Linked DNA regions of Homo sapiens: region 1 is linked to region 2. Evidence: promoter capture Hi-C in human tissues and cell types (Jung and others, 2019). All regions are on one chromosome and are shown on one strand. The core of a region is centred on a gene start or on the middle of the fragment in contact, and the rest is flanking DNA. Distances in the headings are between cores, read along the strand shown.

Region 1 (5,210 bases), core at 1,038-3,537, 1.1 Mb before region 2:
TGTTTGACTTGGCCCTACATCCTTCTGGGATTTCTGTTTTGTGCTTTTGTAGTAGTTAATGGTGGAATTGTTATTGGCGATCGGAGTAGTCATGAAGCCTGTCTTCATTTTCCTCAACTATTCTACTTTTTTTCATTTACTCTCTTTTTTTCTTTTCCTCATCTCCTGTCTCCTAGCAAAATTAAGACTTTTCTTTCCTTAGTTTGGAAACATGGAATTCTGTTTTTGGTGGTTACCTTAGTCTCTGTGTTTTTAGTTTGGAAATTCACTTATGCTCATAAATACTTGCTAGCAGACAATAGACATTATACTTTCTATGTGTGGAAAAGAGTTTTTCAAAGATATGCAATTCTGAAATATTTGTTAGTTCCAGCCTATATATTTGCTGGTTGGAGTATAGCTGACTCATTGAAATCAAAGCCAATTTTTTGGAATTTAATGTTTTTCATATGCTTGTTCATTGTTATAGTTCCTCAGAAACTGCTGGAATTTCGTTACTTCATTTTACCTTATGTCATTTATAGGCTTAACATAACTCTGCCTCCCACATCCAGACTTGTTTGTGAACTGAGTTGCTATGCAATTGTTAATTTCATAACTTTTTACATCTTTCTGAACAAGACTTTTCAGTGGCCAAATAGTCAGGACATTCAAAGGTTTATGTGGTAATATCAGTGATATTTTGAACTGTAAAAATGGACTTAATAATTAGACCATTTCTACAAAGAACAACTGAATAGGTGGAAAACATGGAATTTCTTTTAGGTGCAGTGGTGGTCCTCAAATTACATTAGTTTTTTTAATATATATTTTAAACATATGTAAGAAATTAAGTGGCAAAGAACTGGGAAAGCTTAAGACCTGCTTCAAAAGCCTGAATAATGGGAAAATAAAATTGTTTTCAGATATCTCATATCGCTCTCGTAATGTTGGCCCCTCACAAAGCTTGGGAATGTTTTGTATGTATAAGTTTATTAAAACTGGGTATGCTTCATATTACTAGAACTAATTTATTCTCTTCAGAGAGAACTATTAGGTTAGTGCAAAAGTAATTGTGGTTTTTGCCATTGAAAGTAATGGCAAAACCACAATTACTTTTGTACCAACCTAATAACAATGTGTTAGCAAATATTTACAAATGGTCAGGTGATATTCTTGACTGAAAAGTTCCTTAACATTTCAGTAAATATAATTTTAATTCTAAGTCAAAATAGAAATGCATAGATAGTAAATGATAAAGTAGAGACTCATATATGTCTGTCTAGGCATCAAATTGTTGGTTATTGTTTACAATCCAGAAATGATGAAGCTCTTTCACTAATTCCTAATATGAAATGTATGATGGCCAAAGACAAATTGTGTTGATTATAATCCTTTAAAAGGGGGATTTCCTTTATGAAATACATATTGTATTAGCTTCCCAGGGCTGCCATAACAAATGACCACAAACTTGGGTGCTTACAACAATTTTCCTCACAGTCTGGAGGCCAGAAGTCTAAAATCAAAGTGTCAGCAGAGTTGGTTCCTTCTGGAGGCTCTAAGGAAGAATCCATTCTATGTCTGTTTCCTAATATCTTGTGGCTGTCTGCAATTCTTGGAGTTCTTTGGCTTATGGGCATATCTTGTCTAAGTATTGCAGACAGCAATCTTCACTCCAGTCTCTGCCTCTGCGTTCACACGGCCTTTCCCTCTGTCTTTTCATTACCTTTTAAGGACAGTGTCTTTGAATGTAGGGCCCACCCTGATCTAGGGTGATTGTGTCTGGAGACCCTTAATTATGTTTACAAAGACCCATGTTCCAAGTAAGTTTGTATTCACATGTTCTGAGTAGACATTGTCTCTTCATGGGATACTTTTCAGTCCATGACAGTTACTAAAGGACATTTTAGGATAATCCTCATATGATTGTTAGGAGACTACCTTTAAAAATTTTTTATTATATATCAAATTATAGTTGTATATACTTATGAGGTACGAAGTGGCATTATGATTTTTGAATATAATGTGGGATGATTAAATAAAGCTAATCTATCCATCACCTCAAATATTTGACATATTTTGTGATGAAAACATTTGAAATGTACTCTCAACAGTATTGAAATGTACATACAGTGCTTAATTATTAGCTGTATTCACCATGTTGTGTAATAGATCTAAAAAAAGTCAAACATATTCCTTCTATCTAATTGAGGCTTTGTATCTTTTGATTGTCATCTCCCTATTCCCACATCCCCGGCCTCTAGCAACCATCATTCTTCTCTCTACTTCTGTGAGTTTAATTGTTTTAGATTACACAAATAAGTGAGATCATGTGGTATTTGTCTTTCTGTGCTTGGCTTATTTCACTTACCATAATGTCCTCCACGATCATCCATATTGTTGCAAATGACACAATTTCTTCCTTTTTAAAGGCTGAATAGTATTTTTTTGTATATATATGCCACATTTTCTTTATCCATTCATCCATGGATGGACACTTAGGTTGATCGAATCACTTGGTTATTGTGACTTGTCTGCAATGAACATAGAGTGCAGACTTCTCTTTGACATACGGATTTCAAATCTTCTGGATAAATAGCCAGAAGTGGGATTGTTGGATCAGGAGATAATATCTTAGCTGATACCTTTTAAATAACTCTCAGTATCTTTACTGAGAGGTTAAAAAATAAGTGACTTCTTAGGTAATATAAAGCTAAAGGTGACTAGTGTTTGATTCCATTATCTATTAAAAAAAGTCAGAATTGAAAGAAAGTTGAGAAATCCTTTGGTCTGACTTTGTAGATTAGGGAACAACTGCTGGGGTAGGATTATTTTGTGTTACTTTTTGAATTTTGTGTTTATTATTTTGAGTGTATTTTTTGGGTTGTCATTCCATTACAGGAAAGTATTATTTGGGCATGTTAACTTTGACATGTAAACTTAGAATTGTGAATAGAACTCATCTTTTAACATAATTTTATGTTTCTAAACTTTAAAAGTAGCTATAAGTGAACAAATTACTTTCCCCTCAATGTCAAATTTTGCTTCTCTGAGTTTTAAGTGATGAGTCTACATTTACAAATATAAAATTGTGTGCAGGTGAAAATTACAAGTATAATTTGAGTAATAAATGCAGGCCATTTTTTGGTTGTACTCTAGTACTCAGAAAATAGATCGGCATTAGTTATAACAGTGATTGTAGAAAAACGTGTTTTACCCAGACTTCTTAAAAATTAGATGAGAGAGGACACTCAAAGAAATTATACTTTTGTCATTAATTTACTATAGTGGAGAACTAAATCTGGGAAGTCAAAATTGAAAAAAGAATGTGTAATTTAGGGAAAGTAACTTTTTGTCTGATAATATTAATGCAAGGATTTTGTATTTAGGAATACTTCTGAGAGGAGAAGCTTCCACTCTGATCTAGTCTGGCAAAATTGAGGAAAATATTCTACCCTGTAATTAAAGAAGACTGCTCTTTGGAGGGATCACTGTTCTATATCTTTTTTTGTTTGTTTTTGTCTTTGAGGAGAAGTCTCGCTCTTGTCCCCCAGGCTGGAATGCAATGGCGCGATCTTGGCTCACTGAAACCTCCACCTCCTGGGTTCAAGCAGTTCTCCTGCCTCAGCCTCCCGAGTAGCTGAGATTATAGGCGCCCACCACCAAGCCTGGCTAATTTTTTCTATTTTTAGTAGAGCCGGGGTTTCACCGTGTTAGCCAGGCTGGTCTCGAACTCCTGACCTCAGGTAATCCACCTGCCTCGCCTCCCAAAGTGCTGGGATTACAGGCGTGAGCCACTGTGCCCAGCTCTTCTAGTTCATTTTTAAGTGTTGAGTCCCTGCTGTTTAAGAGATGTTTTGGTGAAAATCTACATTCAGAGAGAAACAGGTTAATCTTCCACATTTTTTATAAAATACATAAAATATAGTACTTGGCATTTTAAGAAAAGAATGCCATGTATTAAAAGGTGCTATTTTCAACTATTTATTATTTTAAAACAGGAATGCTTATCAATACTTTCGAATTTAAGATAAATGTCTTCGTTAAATTTTCTAGGCAGTTCAAAGATGGCCATTTGCTGGTGAATTTTCCAAAATAGATAACAGATAAAATGATTATGTAAGAACTTGGCACAACAGATCATTTTGCCTTTAGTCGTTCAAGAAATGATACTAAACTCAAAGTCATTCACTTGAAACAACTGAGAAGACCATTCTTAGGTGTTTAGATCCTTGCTTTTAGAAACATTCTTAGTTATATTTGTGTTTTCAAAAGTTATTGAGTAGATAGATATTTTTTCATGAATTTTTAAACATTAGACTTAGCTGAATTGATTAAAATTAGGTGATTATGAAAAAAATATTGCCCTGCTCGAGGGCATCTGGAGCCCTACAGTTACCATTACTAAAGTCTGTGAGTATGTCTATTTTGAAAAGTGTCATAAAAATATCTAGTCCATAAATCATTATAGGTTCAGTAATACATCATTTTGAACTGATTCTATCTTCTGTGAAATTCTAGAGATATGTTATCTTTAGGTAGCATGAGTAAGATTCAGGTATGCTGTGAATTTTGTTAACGTTTATGTTTTCCATTAATGGATAGTCAGGAATCTTTTGAACTGCGTCTATGTATTTAAATGATTTGGAAAGATAGCATCTCTCAGTTTAAACTTAGCATCTCATTTTGGCAAGATAAATTATTTTAGCTGTCTGGCCTTTTCTTTGTCTTCTTAGAGTTATTTCTGAAATGTGCATAGCCAGTCATAAAATAACTTGTGTAAATAGCCTAATGTAATTTATTTCTAATAAATACGTAGCTTAATGAAATGTATTTCTAGTTTGAACTTAATTGCCACTTGGCTTGATATTATTTTCCTTAGAATTGTTGGAAGAGAGGAGAGAGGAAGGGATCTACCATTTTTATTTATACCACCTAAATAGTGGACTGTTATTTTGGACTCACTTTTAAATAAAATATTTATTCACATGAAGAAATAAATTTTGTGTTTATTAGGTTAGCAAGCGTTTATTATCTTTGAAGTAATTGGAATTTCATTAAAAAGTGAAGCAAGTAAGAATTGTGATATAAATTTGAAAATTTTTAAATGGAAATTGAAATATGACTTAGGAACTGTGGGCTTGTAGAAAAAAACATTTAACATGGGAGTTAAGATTTTTATATTTGGTTGTGGCTCTGGGATCAATAAGGCAAGTGGTTTAGTCTTTAGT
Region 2 (4,655 bases), core at 12-2,511:
CCTAATTCCTTGGAGTGTAGATTATTTTTATAATCCTTAAAGCATAAATAAGGAGAAGTGAATTAACAGTAGACTCTCAGAGCTGTGAAAGCCACGCACTTACTCTAGGATGAATGCTTCATTAATTTTTCACACAGTGTGATGATGTTGCAATTTTCCATGAGCAACTATCAGAGCTTTCCTTCTTGATAAGTATCAAAACAGCCGAAATTACATCGAATACTCGTGCCTGTCATTGGCCGAAATATAATTTCAATACTAGGATGTACCTAGTATTTCCAGACTCACACCCTGGCCTGGGTAACGTTACGATTACATTGTATCCACCCTGCCTAATGTCAGTATGTTTCACACAGTCACCCATTTCACCCTTCCTCTGGCTAAAGAGTTTTCCTCCTTCTGTAGACCTCTCCCCAGTGGATTTTACCTTAAATTCCACTCCCATTCCAACACCCAAGAGGCTAGATCTGTCTCCTCTACCCACACGCGGGGGCATGTCTAGATCCCCGTGATGCTGAAAAAGATGTCTCATTTGCACAGACATCAGAACCCGAGTGGGCGCGCGGCGGGCCCTGCGGTCGCCGGCGCTGATAGTCAGATGCTTTGTCTCCTGCCTGGGAAGGCCGGAGCTGCATGGACACGTATGACAGACATTCTAGAACTAATAAAAAAGAACACCACAGCCCCGCGCACAGGCAGCTCCTCCCGGACAGGCGATAGCCCAAGGCGGCCAGACCTGAGGTGACTGATCCCGCGAGGGGACGGAGGGGAGTGACGAGGGCTTTTCCCCCAGAGAAGTCAAGACGCCCCCCAGGGACCCGGCGCCGCGCAGCCGCCAGCCACCTGCAAACACAGACGGCGTGAGGGCGGCGCAGTCGCCCTGCCAGCACCCGGCCGCGCGTGCCAGGCCAGCGGGGACTCACTGCCTCAGTTTCCTCAGCCGCAGAACCCGGCCGGGACGCCCCTCAGGTCGCTCCACCCCGGTAGCCGGTGCTCCGCGCCACAGCCAGGTCCTTGCCGCGCCCTCAACCCGCCGCCCGCCGCCCGCCGCCGGCAGACTGTCCTCACCTGACAGCCACCCGCACGGAGCTCTCGTCCGGGGCGCCCAACATGCTGGCGGCGGGCAGCGATCGAGCCGTTGGGCCTCGGCACCGCAGAGCTGAGGCGCCACTGGGGCCGCGGGACTCGGGCGCAGTAGGCTGGGGCGTCTGCGGGCGGGCGGCCGGCTCACCTCCGCCGCGCTCCAGCCATGTTGGGCGACTGAATGGAAAGGTGGCGGCGGCGCTGAGGCAGCAAGAGGAGGAGGTGATTCACGGCTCGCGGGCGCCCGCCCCTTCTCCACCGCTCACCCCCCAGGATCTGGGGCGGGGACAAAGCGCGCTTGAACGGCGAGCGCGCCTGTGGAGAAGCCAACAGGCCGCCAGCGGCCTCAGGGCGGCCGGGTGAGTGCGCCCTGCCCCCTCCGGTGGGGACGCGGCCTCCCAGCGGCCAGGCTGGGGACTCCACGCCCGCCAGGGCGCTCCGGGCTCCTCGCCCCGCACTGCGTCAGCCGCCGCCGCGCGGCTCAGCCCCACCTCGCCCTCCCCCAGCCTGCGCCCCGCCCTGCCCTCGTCGGGACACTGCCTGGCGCTGCTGGGCAGGGAGGCGAGGGGGAGGGATGCCTGCCGCCGGCTGCCCTCGCCCGAGGGCGACCAGCCTGTGCGCCCTTCCAGGCTCTTCTGGGAGAAGGAAGCAGCTAGTGCACGCGCTGCTGCCAGGTCCCTTCTCAAATCGAAGCTTGATTCAGCGGCGCGCCGGGAGCCAGGCAGCTGCTGCTGCGGTTCGGCTTTGTGTCCCACGCATAGCCTTATTGTCCTCTCTGCAGCTTGGACTTTGACCCCCTTCCCTAGCCCCCAGCTGAACGCCCTCCCTCCTCCCTCCCCGGAGTCAGTCATTCATGCTAAACGGACTCCCAGGTTTGTCCACTGTCTCTGGACAGCTGGGCTGTTCTACAGTTCATCGCCCGTTTACCAGCTCGGGTGGGATATGGAAATGATTTATTCGAGACTCCTGAATGCTTTTCTGTTCAATCATTTGTACACTGGTAAATGAACTGCACCCTGGTACTGCCAAGTGTTCCCAGAACTGAATATATCCACCAAGACCTGCTGTGTAGTAAATCCTTCCAAACTGATTTTCTTTCCCTTCTGGCCTTTAAAAAGCACCTCCCAATCCCAGGATTCTCTCAACATTGACCCATTGTGGTTTCTGTTTGTCACTATTGTGCTTCCACATGCCTTCAGATAGCTCTGTGGAAACAGCCTTTATTAGCTTTGCCACAGAGTATCTTTTGTGGACTGCTCCATACATCTCTATAAACAAACATGTGGCTTCATACGAAATAGTATCACAAATTAAATGGCACTATCCAAATAAAGGCACTACCTCAAATGCCTGCAATCTACAATCACATACCTAATCATCTTGTTCAGCAGTGATACAGCAGTGTGGCTCAGAGAAGGCTGCAACACTATGGGAAAAACAAGAAGTGTTTGATGATTTAAACCCATGGGAAGGCCGATGGGGTATATAATTATAGATAGTTTTAAATTTATTCTGTCCCTTAATCTCACTACCCCTAAATCTTAACAGACATGTAACTGGGAGGTAAAGAGGGCAGAGATGCTGAGTATCCTTCTATAGATCAAATTGGTGGGAAAGCTCTCCTCTGGCTACTCTTTGGAGGGCCTTTCCTAGCCTCAAAATTTATCCATCAACAAATCAGAGCTGCATTTCACCCTGCCCTGGCAAGCCCATATCTGGGTGGATCTGGGCTGGCCACCTTGCTTCTTTTGTTGATGAAAGCTGCAAGGAAAGCAAGAATGGCCCAGCACATTTAACAAGAAAACTAAAGAGAAATTTGTATAATTAAGACCCTCTTTTTAAAAAAAGTTCTTTTTTATTTTATTTTATTTTGAGACAAAGTCTTGCTCTGTCACCAGGCTGGAGTGCAGTGGCGTGATCTCGGCTCACTGTAACCTCTGCCTCCCGGGTTCAAGCGATTCTTCTGCCTCAGCCTCCTGAGTAGCTGGGACTACAGGCGTGTGCCACCATGCCCAGCTAATTTTTGTATTTTTAGTAGAGACAGAGTTTCACCGTATTGGCCAGGCTGGTCTTGAACTCCTGACCTTGTGATCCACCCGCCTCGGCCTCCCAAAGTGCTGGGATTACAGGCATGAGCCACCACACCCAGCCTATTTTATTTTTTGAGACAGTGTCTCGCTCTGTCATCCAGGCTGGAATGCAATGGTGTGATCTCAGCTCACTGCGACATCGACATCCTCCTCCGGGGTTCAAGGGATTCTCGTGCCTCAGCCTCCGGAGTAGCTGGGATTTCAGGCATGTGCCAACACATCCAGGTAATTTTTGTATTTTTAGTAGAGATGGGATTTCACCATGTTTACCAGGCTGGTCTCAAACTCCTGACCTCAAGTGATCCGCCCACCTCAGCCTCCCAAAGTGCTGGGATTACAGGCATGAGCTACCTCACCTGGCCAAAAAAAGTTCTCATTTTAAATAACAATAGTATACATATATGTCTCAGTAAGGGGAGTCACAAACACAAATGCCTACAGGAGCCAGGCAGGTAGCTCAAAAGAGCAGAGCAAGATGAATACTATGATAAAGGTGAGGACTATCATAAAATAGAGACACAGGCCCCTTCCAAAGGTGGTGGCCATCCTCAGCTCTGGCTGAATATTGCCTTGATGAAATGCAAATCCAATGCTGCCAAGATTTTTATTTCTTGTATGTATGTTGCTTCTCAAGAAAAAGAGAAAAACAGATCTTTATGAAAAAACTCCTTAGTTTTAAACACCAACGACTAATTCAGCACAATATTTACATATGCTGCAAACCAGACAAAATATGTCTCAGGCCAACTTTAGTCCCAAGACACCAGGCTGGAACTTCTGGACAAAATATTAGCACCAATAACAGCTGTGGCTTTGGGTTCATATTGCACATGGTTTCAGGAAGAGGCAGTGTAGAAATTCAAATTCTCATTAATGACCTAGTCAGTAATTTTTCCCCAAATTTCTAAAGTTGTAAAATTAACATACTATTTTGTATTTAGTTCCAATTCATTTACAGCTGCTATAACACCTTTCCTTATGACTCCTCTTTTTTTTTTTTTTTTCTGAGATGGAGTCTCGCTCTGGAGTCTCGCTCTGGAGTCTCACTCTTTCGCCCAGGCTGGAGTGCAGTGGCACCAACTCGGCTCACTGAAAGCTCTGCCTCCTGGGTTCACGCCATTCTCCTGCCTCAGCCTCCCGAGTAGCTGGGACTACAGGCACCTGCTACCACGCCTGGCTTAACTTTTTGTATTTTTAGTAGAGACGGGGTTTCACCATGTTGGCCAGGATGGTCTCGATCTCTTGACCTCGTGATCCACCCGCCTCGGCCTCCCAAAGTGCTGGGATTACAGGCGTGAGTGACCGCGCCTGGCCATGACTCCTCTAAATAATCTTAATTTCTTAATTTCAAGAAAGTTCCAAGGGAAGAGCTTTTACTGCAAGAGTGGTTTAAGTCTTATTCCAATCATTGACTCAATAAATATTTTAAGTGATTATATGCAAACAAAGTGAGGGACAACAGTGATTTAGAGAAGAATAAGA

What was found. Contacts are between HindIII fragments. The study calls those that stand out against the background at their distance.
Region 1: a contact is called between a fragment that was not itself captured here and the fragment with the promoter of KIF21A in region 2, in 1 of the 25 tissues and cell types used here (lymphoblastoid cells).

What each region holds. Positions count from the first base shown.
Region 1 is chr12:38,320,545-38,325,754 of GRCh38, forward strand. ALG10B (ALG10 alpha-1,2-glucosyltransferase B) reads left to right here. Exons shown (of 3, transcript NM_001013620.4): 3 at 1-5,210. The coding sequence ends at 669. Among named protein-coding and RNA genes, the nearest start is that of ALG10B, 6.4 kb to the left of the region's middle. The HindIII fragment of the contact is 4,339 bases long and covers 119-4,457 here.
Region 2 is chr12:39,441,859-39,446,513 of GRCh38, forward strand. KIF21A (kinesin family member 21A) reads right to left here and starts at 1,262. Exons shown (of 38, transcript NM_001173464.2): 1 at 1,069-1,262. The coding sequence starts at 1,112. RefSeq lists enhancers at 203-272, 1,091-1,591, 1,873-1,932 and a silencer at 893-1,792. The HindIII fragment of the contact is 12,215 bases long and covers 1-4,655 here.